2 separate regions of the Homo sapiens genome follow, and region 1 is linked to region 2. Evidence: promoter capture Hi-C in human tissues and cell types (Jung and others, 2019). All regions are on one chromosome and are shown on one strand. Each heading gives the region's core, a stretch centred on a gene start or on the middle of the fragment in contact. The rest is flanking DNA. Distances are from core to core; before and after follow the strand shown.

Region 1 (2,700 bases), core at 178-2,677, 1.2 Mb after region 2:
CCAGGCAGAAGCTATCCATTTATGGCCTAGCCTCAGAAGTCACACAGCATCCCCTCTGCCACATTGTATTTGTTAGAAGCAAATCACTGAGTCTGGGCGTCATTCAAGGGGAGAAACCAAGCTTATACCTTTTTTTTAATTTTTATTTTTTATTTTTATTTTATTATTATACTTTAAATTTTAGGGTACATGTGCACAACGTGCAGGTGTGTTACGTATGTATACATGTGCCATGTTGGTGTGTTGCACCCATTAACTCGTCATTTAGCATTAGGTATATCTCCTAATGCTATCCCTCCCCCCTCCTCCCAAGCTTATACCTTTTGAAGGGGAGTTGTGTCAAAGCATTTGTGGGCCTTTTTTTTTTTTTTTTTGAGGCGGAGTCTCACCCTGTCACCCAGGCTGGAGTGCAATGGCACGATCTCAGCTCACTGCAACTTCCGCCTCCCGGGTTCAAGTGATTCTCCTGCCTCAGACTCCCGAATAGCTGGGATTACAGGCACCTGCCATCATGCTTGTGGGCATATTTTTAAACCATCACAGCATCAATTGACCATGCCAAAAACCTAGCTAGTATGCAGGAATCTGTTTTTCTTTTCTTGTTTTTTTTTTTTTTCTTTGAGGCGGAGTCTCACTCTGTCACCAGGCTGGAGTGCAGTGGCGTGATCTCGGCTCACTGTAACCTCTGCCTCCCATGTTCAAGCGATTCTCCTGCCTCAGCCTCCCGAGTAGCTGGGACTACAGGCATGCGCCACCACACCCAGCTAATTTTTGTATTTTTAGTAGAGACAGGTTTCACCATGTTGGCCTGGATGGTCTCAATCTCATGACCTCGTGATCCACCCACTTCAGCCTCCCAAAATGCTGGGATTACAGGCATGAGCCACCGTGCCCAGCCTCTGTTTTCCTTTTGTAGTCCAGCTTTTGAGTTTTTATAACTCAGTCCAGATTGAGGGGATCTGCTGTTTTTTAGAGAGAGACAATCTAACATCAGTAGGTTTTCAGACTGCTATGTCAGTGTATCTTATAAATCGGATACATTGACCCTCTTCTTACCATCAACCTTTCAAATCCTTGGCCATCATAACACTTCTGAGAAACTGTAGCCCACTTACATTTTTGGCATCTAGCAGCTAAAGGGGCAGTGTACAGTAGTGTTACAAGCAGGCAGTAGAGCCCAGTAGCCTGGATGTGAGTCCCAGTAATGCTGTTAACTGGCTTATATGATTTGGGCAAGTCCTTTAGTCTCTGTGCCTCAGTTTCCCTATATGTAAAACAGACCTAATGATAAATCCTTGTAGGGTCACTGAGGAACAAATGGGCTGATGCGTATAGAGCTCTTAAAACACTGTCTAGCACGTAACAAGCACCATGTCAATGTTAGTGGTCACTGTTTTATCTAATTGCCTCATTTTGAGTGAGGCAAACAGCTTGATTTTCTTTTCCTTTCCTTGTATGAGTTCCTGTTTTACATAAGGAAGGTAAAAGATGCAGGGCTCTTGAGCCGCTTTGGCTCTTGTTTGTTCCAAGTTCGAAGAAGTAGAACAGCGTGTGTTTTAAACTCATTGCATGTAAAAGTTTCTAATATGCCCATGCTTCTGGGCTCAAGTTTTGATTTACATTTTATCACATTTCAGATAGTAAGCCCCACAGTCTGAGAGGTGACTCCATAAAACAAGAAGAGGCCCAGAAAAGCTTTGTTGACAGCTGGAGACAGAGATCAAACACTCAAGGTACCAGAATCCCTGCTTCTCCTGCAGGGGCCTGCATGGCTCTGAGTAATATGCAGAAGAATTGCCCAGGCCTCTGAGAACCGGTGCCCCGGGCAGTCCTTCAGAGAGTCCAGGGAAGTCAAAGTATGTGGCTTAAGCAGAAGACTTTATAAAGTGGAAAGGGCCAAGGGCAGGTATGTCCCAGAGCCTTCCGCACCCACAGGCATCTTCCTGGGGCTTAGTGGCAGCCTAGAGGACAGTTGGCATCCAAAGAATCCTTACTGTTTCCTTCTGAAAGCCACCGAAAAGATCTCCCATGTCAGAACCTTCTAGAGTCATCTTGTCTTCTGCAGGTTCCATTTTGATAAACCTGCTCCTGAAGCAGCCTTTGATCCCAGGGTCATCCCTAAGCCTTTGCCACCTCCTGAGTAGTAGTTCTGAGTCTCCTGCTGGCACCCCCCTGCAGCCACCAGGGTTTGGCAGGTAAGCATAAGACTCCTGGAAAGCTTGTTTGGGAAGGAGCTTCCTGGAAGCAAATTCCTTTCTGGCCCTGGCCAGCCTGAGAAGTCTGTGGGAAGGGCAGGCAGCCTGGAGAATTTGGCAGGCAGGCTGTTTGGGGCTCTTGACCTTATCTCCATCCCACACTTAATCTATTTTTCTTTGTGTTTGTTGCCAGTACCTTGGCTGGAATGTCAGGCCTCAGGACCACAGGTTCTTATGATGGGTCATTTTCCCTCTCAGCCCTGAGAGAAGCACAGAACCTGGCATTCACTGGACTGAATCTGGTTGCCCGGAATGAGTGCTCACGTGATGGAGACCCAGCAGAGGGAGGCAGAAGGGCCTTCCCACTCTGCCAGCTTCCTGGAGCCGTGCATTTCCTCCCCCTTGTACAGTTCTTCATCGGCTTACACTGCCAGGCCCTGCAGGACTTGGCAGCTGCTAAGAGAAGCGGAGCACCTGGGGACTCACCGACACATTCCTCCTGCGT
Region 2 (4,742 bases), core at 1,661-4,160:
ATTATCTAAGAGAGGTCCAATGGGTGTTACCTGACAAAAGTTATTCCAGATTTTATTTATTTATTATTTTTGAGACATTTATTTCAGACAGAGTCTCGATCTCTCTCTCAGGGTGGAGTGCACTGGTGTGATTTCAGCTCACTGCAGCCTGTCTCCCAGGCTCAAGCAATCCTCCCACCTCAACCTCAACCTCCAGAGTAGTGGTAGGACAGGTGTGTGTCACCACACCCGGCTAACGTTTTGCAATTTTGTAGAGATGGGGTTTCAACATGTTGCCCAGGCTGGTCTCAAACTCCTGGGTTCAAGCAATCCACCCACCTCAGCCTCACACTCAATTTCTAAAGCTTGGGGAACCGGGGAACCACTCTTCACATCCAAGGGCCCATTCTCCTGCCCAGGGAAATTCAGATGCCATCCAGGGTATGCTCCGAAAGGGACCATGAAGAAGCAGGGGAGCTCTGGGAGCAGGTGCCCAGGCCTCTCTCCCTGAAGCCCCTGCACAAGAGTAGCACAGGCCAGTTCAGAGCATCAACCTCAGCTGGGCATGGTGGCTCACGCCTGTAATCCCAGCCTTTGGGAGGCCAATGTGGGAGGATCGCTTGAGGCCAGGAATTAGGAACCAGCTTGGGTAACACAGCAAGACCTTGTCTCTACAAAAAATTTTAAAAATTTGCCAAGTGTGGTGGTGCACGCGTGTGGTCCCAATTTCCCAGGAGGCTGAGGCAGGAGGATCACTTGAGCAGTGATGGCACACCACTGCTCTCCAGCCTGGACAACAGCGTGAGACTGTCTCAACAAAACAAAACAAATAAGCAAAAGCATCACTCTCCCTCCAGAGCCTGGCCCTTCTCTGCCCTGCTATTTGCCAACATGCACATGCACACGCAGTCACCCCATGTATGCTTCCCAAGGCCCTCCCATGCTGACACCATGGCTCCAAGCAGGCCAGGAGCCATATCCACCTGCAATAAAGTCTTCCTTTGCACACCCGTCTTGTGAGCCTGCTACTCAGCAGCCCTTTAACACCCAAACATTTAGGGACCCCATGCCATCTTGCACTTACTGAAATACTGCTTGTTACCATTCTTACGTCGCTTCATTTGAGTGGGTTTCAGTTCCCAAAATTAAATTACAAGCTGCTTGAAGGCAAGGATTGTGCTTTTTATCTCTTTTGAATCCCCTCACAATGTCCAGGGCAGAGCCCAGCACAGAGTAGGTATTCAGGAAATGGCGGTGGTTGGTGATGGTAATGGCTGGAAGTCAGAGGGCAGCTGAATCTTCATATGTGGGTCTATCTTCAGTCACTACTGAGAGAGTCCCAAGGGGCATATGATGTCACTCCCCTTCCATGACAACTCCAACCAAAGCCCACAGCCCTTCCAGGAGGACACTTGGTTTCCAGGTGCAAAAATCCACATCCAGCACCTCACCACACGCTTTTTTTGTTTTTGTTTTTGTTTTTTGTTTATTTGTTTTTGTGACAGGGTCTCACTCTGTCACCTAGGCTGGAGTGCAGTGAAACAATCTCGGTTCACCGTAGCCTCCACATCCTGGGTTCAAGCGATCCTCCCACCTCAGCCCCGCAAGTAGCTAGGACTACAGGCGTGCACCACCACGCCCGGGTAATTTTTGTATTTTTCGTAGAGACAGGGTTTCGCCATGTTGCCCAGGCTGGTCTTGAACTCCTGAGCTCAAGCAATCCGCTCACCTCAGCCTCCCAAAGTGCTAGGATTACAGGCGTGAGCCACGGCGCCCGGCCCCCTCCCTTTCTCCCTCAGGACCTTGTGGGGAATGTCTCTCCTTGGGGAACCACCCTTTGATATTTCTGGTATAACAAAGCAAGTCTCTGAATGGCCACCAGGAGACTTCTGTGTTAAGGCGCTCGAGGTTTCCTCATTTGTCTTTAGTGGGAATGAACAGAATTGGCAACAAGCAGCCATGAAGACTAGACAAGAGGAAAGGGAGCGTTTGGTGGGGTGGAAGGCACCAGGTGGGTCCCTATCTTCCAGTGCTCCCGTCCAGATGAGGGGCTGTCATGGGGAACCCTCATAGCTACCCGTAGCGGCAGCACCAACACCCGAATCCAAAACACTGGGTCCAACTGCACCTGGCCTTGGCTGAACAAGACTAGGATGCAGGCAAAACTAGACTTTCTCCTTTTTCTCACCCAATGTGCCGGACCCCCGCGTGGAGCCTGGGCGGCAGTGGGCTTTGGACCCATTCCGGTCCCTCTCTGGAGAGGTTTCCTCACCTGTAACACGAAGGGCTCCGACTGGTGATCCCAAAGCCCCCTCTAGTTCGAAAACTGACTAGTACGGAAGAGTCCAGACGACCTCTGGCTCCCTGCCTCACGGCCTCTATGTCCTGGACGCGACGTGGGACCCCTTTGTGGGACCAATGAACATTAGCTCCGAAGACCGTAAGCCGCGGTCAGGTTGAAAGGACTCCCGCGACGTCGAGCCCTCCTTCGCCTGGGTTTCAGAGATGAGCGACCCAGCTGGGAACCCCCAGATAAAGCGGTTTTTGGACCCCAGCCACTTTCAGCAGTCCGGGCGCACACCCTTTTCCCGTCTCCCCACTCCCACCGGCGAGCAGCCCCTGCTCACCGTTCACCAGGCAGCGACGCTCCCGGGACGCGACTGCCGCAACCGAAACCACCTGCACTCCCCACGCGGGGCTGCCTGGCTGTGTACATAGTCGCCATGGCAACGGGTCGCTTCCGGGGATTCCGGAAGTGTCGGGGTGGCGGAAATGAAGTCCGAGGTCCTACGTCGAGGATACGGGTGAGGTCATGGCCGAATCGGGAAGACGAGAGATGGGGCCGATTGATCTAGAAAGACTTCGGCGGATGCACATGCGAAGTCAAGGTCGAGATAGCGAGGGAACGAAGGCCGCACATGAACCAGGAAGCGGAGTGGCGGGGCTTCCGGCGCCGAGGAGATTCAACTACGGCGGCCGCGGAGGCCCGTCCGATTGCTGCTCCGCGCTCCGAGCGGCTGTCGGCGTGCGCTATCGCCCCGCCCTGGTTAGTGTCTAGCCGGCCGGCGAGGCCTGCGCAGTTGCAGCGGCCGGGGAAGATGGTGGAGGACGGCGCGGAGGAGCTGGAGGATCTGGTGCACTTCTCCGTGTCTGAGTTGCCTAGTCGCGGCTACGGCGTCATGGAGGAGATCCGGCGGCAGGGCAAGCTGTGCGACGTGACCCTCAAGGTACCGCGGACTGGGCGGCAGCGGGCTGAGGGAAAAGGGGTCGAGCGGGGAGTAAAAAGGGGCGGGGGACAGAGAAAGAGAGGTCTAGCAGGGAGAGGGGTGGGGAGAAGAGGTGTGAGGGGGGCCGAGTAGTGGGGAGAGAGGTGCCGAGCAAAAGGGGATCGGGGCCGAGTGGGGAGAGGAAGAGGACAACCTTTCAGCCCTTGAAAGGAAAGGTTGAGAGGTGCGCCGCTTAGGCCCTTGGAGTGGGAGACACGGGTGACAGCCTCCTTTTTCTGTCATGCAGACAAGAGAAAATGGACTTACCTTCTATGGAGGCAGGGGCGGTGGCCGGCTCCACATGCTGATGGGCACCACTGAAGAACCTTCTCTTGTCACTACAGATATTTCTTTGTGCCTGTCGAACTTGGCTGTGCTGTTCTAGAAGAGAAGGCTTCTCCTTAGGAATCATTGCCCTTAATTGTTGAATTACTACTTTGTCTCTTAAGAGCTTTTAAAATCTTCTCTGGAAAATTTTTGAGGTGGGAAGCCACCCTGCCCCATACTGGAAGGCACCACTCACCACCACAAAGGTCCCCGGGGCTGGGCCTGCTGGCCGCGTGGGGAGAGGGATGCTGACTGATATTAAGAGGGAAAGATATCTTAACCACCTGTTCCCCACCAGCATTCTGGTCGCTAGAGCCAGCCTCCCTCCTGTGCCTGGGTCTTTTCATGAGGAAGAGGCATGCTGTGCTGCTGCCTGGCCAAGCCACCGAACCATGTGGAGACGTCCGGTTGGGGAGATGATCAGTGGGGCTCCCTGTTGGGCTTTAGCTGGAAAGCTCTCAGCATCTGTGCGTGATCCCTGTTTAAAAAACAAACAGGGCAGGCATGGTGGCTCACACCTGTAATCCCAGCACTTTGAGAGGCGAGAGGATCACTTGAGTGGGGGAATTGGAGACCAGCCTGGGCTATGTAGGGAGACCCTGTCTCTACAAATAATAAAAAATTGTCTGGGCATGGTAGCCTGTGCCCGTAGTCCCAGCTACTCAGGAGGGTGAGGTGGGAGGATCGCTTGAGCCTAGGAGGTCAAGCCTGCAGTGAGTTGTAATCACACCACTGCACTCCAGCCTGGGCAACACAGCAAGATCCTATTTCTCCTATTTCTCTCTGTCTCTCTCACACACACACACACACACAAATAAATAAATAAAAGAAAAAATAAAACTATGCAGAGATTCTTTTGCTCTTCTTTTCTTTTTTCTTTTTTTTTTTTTTTTTGAGACGGAGTCTCGTTCTGTTGCCCAGGCTGGAGTGCAGTGGCGCTATCTTGGCTCACTGAAACTCTCTCTCCTGGGTTCAAGCGATTCTCCTGCCTCAGCCTCCCCAGCAGCTGGGACTACAGGCGCGCACCACTACCCCTGGCTAATTTTTTCTATTTTTAGTAGAGACAGGGTTTCACCATGTTGCTCAGGCTGGTCTCGAACTCCTGAGCTTCAGCAGTCTGCCTGTCTCGGCCTCCCAAAGTGCTAGAATTACACGCGTGAGTCACCGCGC

The links. Contacts are between HindIII fragments. The study calls those that stand out against the background at their distance.
Region 1: a contact is called between a fragment that was not itself captured here and the fragment with the promoter of KIF9 in region 2, in 1 of the 25 tissues and cell types used here (dorsolateral prefrontal cortex).

The regions. Positions count from the first base shown.
Region 1 is chr3:48,457,722-48,460,421 of GRCh38, forward strand. It overlaps ATRIP (ATR interacting protein), which reads left to right. Exons shown (of 13, transcript NM_130384.3): 6 at 1,638-1,733; 7 at 2,066-2,195; 8 at 2,389-2,700. It overlaps ATRIP-TREX1 (ATRIP-TREX1 readthrough), which reads left to right. Exons shown (of 15, transcript NR_153405.1): 6 at 1,638-1,733; 7 at 2,066-2,195; 8 at 2,389-2,700. Among named protein-coding and RNA genes, the nearest start is that of TREX1, 7.2 kb to the right of the region's middle. The HindIII fragment of the contact is 6,156 bases long and covers 1-2,700 here.
Region 2 is chr3:47,279,889-47,284,630 of GRCh38, forward strand. KIF9 (kinesin family member 9) reads right to left here and starts at 2,911. Exons shown (of 21, transcript NM_182902.4): 1 at 2,607-2,911. KLHL18 (kelch like family member 18) reads left to right here and starts at 3,056. Exons shown (of 10, transcript NM_025010.5): 1 at 3,056-3,206. The coding sequence starts at 3,078. RefSeq lists enhancers at 2,235-3,434, 2,650-3,039. The HindIII fragment of the contact is 9,211 bases long and covers 1-4,742 here.